Linked DNA regions of Homo sapiens: region 2 is linked to region 1. Evidence: promoter capture Hi-C in 16 types of primary human blood cells and fetal thymus (Javierre and others, 2016). All regions are on one chromosome and are shown on one strand. The core of a region is centred on a gene start or on the middle of the fragment in contact, and the rest is flanking DNA. Distances in the headings are between cores, read along the strand shown. Region 1 holds the start of IRF2 (interferon regulatory factor 2). Region 2 overlaps IRF2 (interferon regulatory factor 2).

Region 1 (2,894 bases), core at 186-2,685:
CTACCCTGTCTCTTAAAAAAAAAAAAAAGTGAGTATTATAATAGAGGGGATAAGGAATAATGTGTATGTGAGGTCTATTTCTGAGACCAGAGCCACAAAACAGAATCCTGCACCTTAGCCATTTTCTTACCACACGCGTTTTCTTGGATACTTCCATTTTTCCAGTCTATATAATTCAATACTTCTGTGACAGAGAGGTGTTGGAGTTTTTTGTTTTGCTTTTGTTTTTTCGCAACTCTTTACATACAAACAGCTATGGTCTCCCAGGAAGGAACTTCCTCTGTTGAGTACAGAAGTCTGGGAAAAGACTGGTGAAATTGCATGCGAGGAAGAAACAGGTCTAACTAAATGTGAATCTATACTTTTAAAGCAAGGGACCACAAAGGGTAGGTCCCAAGGAAGTTGCATTGCTTGCTGCACTTGTCACACGGGCTGTACTTTCTTCTCTCATTTATTTCCATTTACAGCGTTGAAAACTGAGGCCTTAGGCTTTGGTTGAAAACCGAGGCCAAGGGTGACCAGCCAGTGAGTTAAGGAGGCCCCAGCCGAACTTTGCTGGAAGTGCTCCAGCATAAAGCCTCTCTCCAGAACCAGCCGCCACTGAGACGTCTTGAAGTCAAAGTAACTCACACCCTTGTCCACCTCGCCCTGCGGTGAAGAAACTTCGGTCGCACAGGCTCCAGAACTCATCTTGGCGTGGGCTGTGACTTACTGGGGGATGGGCCTCCTTTTCGTTCTAGCTCCTAAATGGAGCGGAGCGCCAGGTGGTGTCAGAGGGGGCGGCGGCCCCTCCAATGGTGGCACCCTCAGCCACGGATAAGGTTCCAATTAGGTAAGGACGCAAGTAATGCTGTCGTTTCGGCTGACTGCTCCTTTCATTCCTTGGAGGTGGTCGGTGTCACAAAACGAATTTTCATTTACTCTCAACAGTCACACCAGCCCTGCTAACTGGATGGTCGCAGCCCCGTGCCTTCGCCGGACGCCCTCCTGGAACCTTCAGGCCACCCTGAGGATGGAGACTCGGGTGCCCGCTCTCCTCCCCTACCGCCGCGGGCCTGCGCCCCCCGCCCCGGACCCCGACTCGGACGTTCTAGCCGCACGTGCGGGCGCCCCTGGGTGCGAGCCGCGGACTCACGAGCCGCTGCTTGTTGCTCCCGCCGCCGCGACCTGGGGAAGCGAAAATGAAATTGACTTTTCCGAGAAATGATGAAAGCGGCGCTGCCCGCCAATGAGCTGCTGCGGCGAACTTCCGCACCTCCCGGCCGGGCCGCTCGCGCCCTCCCTCCGCCTCCACCTCCCGGTTGCACAAGCTTGAAACAAACACTGGGGAGGAAGGGCGGAGGGAGGAGGGCGGAGAGGGGAGGCGAGGGAGGGAGCGCGGCCGGAGGAGGGCGGGGGGTGGGGGGATTTCCAGCCGCGGCTCTTCGCAGTTTCCTCTCCTTGTTTTGCTTTCGATCTGGACTGTTCTCAGGCAAGCCGGGGAGTAACTTTTAGTTTTGCTCCTGCGATTATTCAACTGACGGGCTTTCATTTCCATTTCACATACCCTAGCAACACTTATACCTTGCGGAATTGTATTGGTAGCGTGAAAAAAGCACACTGAGAGGTAACATTTTTCAAATAATAGTTGTGACTGTGTGTGTTTCTCTCGAGGGCATGTTTCTGGGGACTGTGGGGGGCCGTGTGTGTATGCGTGTCCTGATGCCTTGACACGATGTTTTGCAGACGGAAAATGCCGGGGTTCATAAATATTAATACTGATTTTTGGAGGAACAGTCGGCGCAATTATGGATCATCTGATTTTAGGGGAAGCAGGTTCTGCTGCTGTTGCTGCTGCTACTGGGGCTGCTGAGGCTGCGAGGAGGAGGAGGAGGAGGAGGTAGAGAGGGAGGAGGAGGAGGAGGTTGGTGGAGGTTTAATTTCACTTTTGGATTTGCAGATGCGGAGAGGTGGCTCCATGGACACAGACCTGCTGTGTGTGCTTCTGCGCCCCAGGTGTTGTGTGTGGGGGTGCAGGTCAGCTGGAGTCGGGCCTCATTTAAAACAAAATTGTGTGTATGTGCGTGTTTGTGTGTGCGCGCGTGTGTGTGTGTGCAGCCACCGCCGCCACCGGATCCGAAGGAGGGGAGCGGGTCCTTCTCGGTGCCCGCGGCGGCGCCTCTCCAGGCTGCCTCCAGCGTAAATAAGCAGGCACCGCTCCCCGGCCGGGAGGAGCGCCTCCAGCCACGGCCAGAGGAAACTTGCTGGGGCGCCCCGCGGCGGTCCAGGGGCTCGCCTGCCTGCCGGGCTCGGGGTCGGGTCGCGGGCGTCGGGTGCCAGCGGCCGGGGCGGGAGGGCGGGCTCGGAGCCGGGCCGGGCGCCGGGCCTGGCCGACGCGCCCTGCTTCCTGGGGGCTGGGCCGCCGCCGCCGCCGCTCAGAAGGGACGCCGCGTCCTCCTTCCCGCCGGCCAGCGCCCGGTCGGGCCCTGGGGCTTTGTCATTGCACTTGTCCCAGCGCGCCAGGGGCTCGGGCGGCGCGTCCCAGGAAGGCACCGTGCCGAGGGGTCAGCCGCCCGGGCCGCGGCCTAGCGCCGTGCGCCCCCGGGTCCCCGCAGGCGCCCCCGGCCGGCCTCGCGCGCTGGGCCTGACCCGCCTCGGCTACGGAGCGGGCGAGGTGGGGGCGGGGAGCCTCCGGGGACCGAGCGGCGCAGTGGGGGCCGGCGTCCCCTCGGGGTCCCGGGGCGCGGGCCGCGGCGGGGTGGGGACGCGAGTGCCCGCCCCGTGCCCTCCGACCCGGCTCCGGGCGCCGGGTGACATTCGCCCGCTGGCCGAACATGGTTGGTGCAAAGCCGCGGCGGCCGCCACTTCCTTTCCGCCTCGCCGGTAGGGCTCGCCCACCGAGTGAAGCCGGCCGC
Region 2 (2,894 bases), core at 257-2,756, 38 kb after region 1:
ATAGCAGCCTGCGTAAACAAGCTCAGACTCTAGCTGGGCATCTGAGACCCTCCTGAGGTTCAAGTCCTGCCTCCTCATCTAGAGGCGTGGGTGACTTAGACATTTTCTTTTCTTTCTTATTTCTTCTTCTTATTTTTTGTGGGGGCTGCCTTTTTGGCTATGCTTTTCCTAATCTCTAAAATGATGATAATAGGCTGGGCACGGTGACTTATGCCTCTAACCTTAGCAGTTTGGGAGGTTGAAGTAGGAGGATCACTTGAGGCCAGGAGTTCAAACCAACCCGGGCAACATAGGTAGTGAAACCCCTGTTTCTACAAAAATATTTTAAAAAATTAGGCCAGGCGCGGTGGCTCATGCCTGTAATCCCAGGACTTTGGGAGGCCAAAGCAGGTGGATCATCAGGTCAAGAGTTCAAGACCAGCCTGACCAACATGGTGAAACCCCGTCTCGACTAAAAATACAAAAAAATTAGCTGGGCGTGGTGGCGCATGCCTGTAATCTCAGCTACTCAGGAGACTGAGGCAGGAGAATTGCTTGAACCCGGGAGGCAGAGGTTGCAGTGAGCCAAGATTGCACGACTATACTCTAGCCTGGGTGACAGAGCGAGACTCCATCTCAAAAAACCCGAAAAACAAAAAATTAGCTGGGTGTAGTGGATGCACCTGTAGTCCTGGGTACTTGAGAGGCTGAGGTGAGAGGCTCTCTTGAACCCAGGAAGTCAGGACTGTAGTGAGCTAGGATTGCACCACTGCACTCTAGTCTGGGTGACAGAGTGAGACCTGTCTCAAAAATAAAATGAAAAAATAAAATGGGGATACTAGTATTTAACTGGTTAGAGCTGTTATGAGAGTTAAAGATGATTGATGTGAAATACCCAGTGCTTGCTTCTCACACACCAGTGACTCTTATGAAGACACCCCTGTTGGTGCATAAGACAGTTGCTCTGCTCACATCAGCAAACACATCTTCAGTCCTGCTTTGGCCGCCGATACCAACCTTTTACCTCCCCTGGCTTGCCTGCCACCTTCTCCCTGCCTAGACAGCACCTCCCCATCCATTAAGGTCTTCCTTTACCATAAAGCTTTCCTTTGCCATAAAGCTTTCTCTTATATGCCCATTTAACAATGATTTATGTATTCCTTATGAACTACCTAACTTAGTTGGCAATTAATAATACACTACCTTCTGATCTTTATTGCATAGTCTTTTATTATTATAATTATAGGATTATTAGTTAGCTTTATGTGATTTATCTCTCACATCCTCAGTTAACTTATTTGTTCCTTGAGGGTAGTGATCATGTCTTACCGTCTTTGAATCCCCCACAGCACTCAGCACAGTTCCTTGTAACAATGTGTGTTTAATGAATTTTTGCTGATCCATTGGGTGACTGGGTAATAAGAAAAGGCGTTCCATGGCCGGGCGCAGTGGCTCACGCCTGTAATCCCAGCACTTTGGGAGGCCAAAGTGGGCGGATCACGAGGTCAAGAGATTGAGATCATCCTGGCCAACATGATGAAACCCTGTCTCTACTGAGAATACAAAAATTAGCTGGGCATGGTGGTGGGCACCTGTAGTCCCAGCTACTCCGGAGGCTGAGGCAGGAGAATTGCTTGAACCTGGGAGGCAGAGGTTGCAGTGAGTCGAGTTCGAGCCACTGCACTCCAGCCCAACGACAGAGCGAGACTCTGTCTCAAAAAAAAAAAGAAAAAAGAAAAAGAAAAAGAAAAAAGAAAAGCTCCAGAGATAATATGAATCCTAGGGTAATGTTATGTTCCTCAAGATCTGATTTCTATTTACTTTTGGTAGTTCCAGGTCATTTTCATTAGATCAGGGATTGAGATGATTCAAAGCTGGGCTTCAGCCTTTGATATTAGTTTATTTCTACTTAGTTGTATTACTTACAAAGCTTGTGAGGGTGTTTCCAGGAACCCCTTTTCCTAGCTGCATCCTGATGTTCAATTTTTGTCTCCTCAGTCACCTGAGTGTGTCAAAAGCTCTGCTTTCAAAGCCCCACAGCCTCCTCTTCAGAAAGGAGCAGCTGTCCCTGCGCTAGGACGACAGCAGCCCTAAATGTCAGGTTCACCTTCCTGGGTTTCTTTTTCTCCTAGATCTTGCCCCCCTAATTTTTAACTACCTTGTTAGCTCTCTGATGCATTTAAATGGATTTTAAAAATATATTTTGTCCATGTTTCTTAGTTATTCAGCCTGGGAGTCAGGTCTGAATTACCTACTGTACCATTACCAGAAGCACCACCCCCCTCTCAGCTAAGGAATTTATTACCTTAAATCCAGCAGGCACATTTAGAAGTCTCTGGAACAGAGAATTAACATGATTAAATGGTATTTTAGGAAGATGACTGTCAGTGGTTTGCAAGACGGAGAGGAGTTTGGAAAGTCTCAGTAAGTAGAACAATTAAGAGGTCTTCATAACTCAGTGCTTTCTAAAGTACGATGAAGGCAGAGGTTAGAGTGGATAAGCCTGGGTGTTTCACGTTAGATAGGCCTGAATTTAAATGAGAGTCTTGGCTCTCCACTTACTAGCAGGTAATAAAGGATAATAAAGTCCCTATGTCCTAGGGTTGTAAGGGTTAAATGGCAAAACTTGTAGAAAACCCTAGGTTTTTTATTTTCTATTTTTAGAGAGGGGCTGTCTTTCTGCCACCCAGGCTGGAATGCAGTGGTGTGATCATGGCTCACTGCAGCCTCGAACTCCTGGCTTCAAGTGATTGTCCCACCTCAGCCTCCCAAGGAGCTGAAAAGACAGGTGTGTCCCACCACACCTAGCAAGAAAACCCTAGTTTTAATGCCCAGCACATAGTAGGTGCTCTGTAAATGGTAACCGTTGCTCTTACTATTCCAAGAACCAAAATTCAGTTATTTGGGTGAAAATT

What was found. The method cuts DNA at HindIII sites, captures the fragments that hold promoters and counts their contacts. A CHiCAGO score of 5 or more calls a contact.
Region 2: a fragment that was not itself captured here is called in contact with the fragment with the promoter of IRF2 in region 1 in 1 of 17 cell types (naive B cells); the score reaches 5.0 in naive B cells.

What each region holds. Positions count from the first base shown.
Region 1 is chr4:184,473,091-184,475,984 of GRCh38, reverse strand. It overlaps IRF2 (interferon regulatory factor 2), which reads left to right and starts at 1,435. Exons shown (of 9, transcript NM_002199.4): 1 at 1,435-1,606. IRF2-DT (IRF2 divergent transcript) reads right to left here and starts at 1,183. Exons shown (of 1, transcript NR_186573.1): 1 at 1-1,183. RefSeq lists enhancers at 397-726, 1,077-1,266 and silencers at 1,297-1,416, 2,227-2,276, 2,357-2,894. The HindIII fragment of the contact is 7,048 bases long and covers 1,313-2,894 here.
Region 2 is chr4:184,434,797-184,437,690 of GRCh38, reverse strand. The region is part of intron 1 of IRF2 (interferon regulatory factor 2); the gene reads left to right. Among named protein-coding and RNA genes, the nearest start is that of IRF2, 38 kb to the left of the region's middle. The HindIII fragment of the contact is 810 bases long and covers 1,102-1,911 here.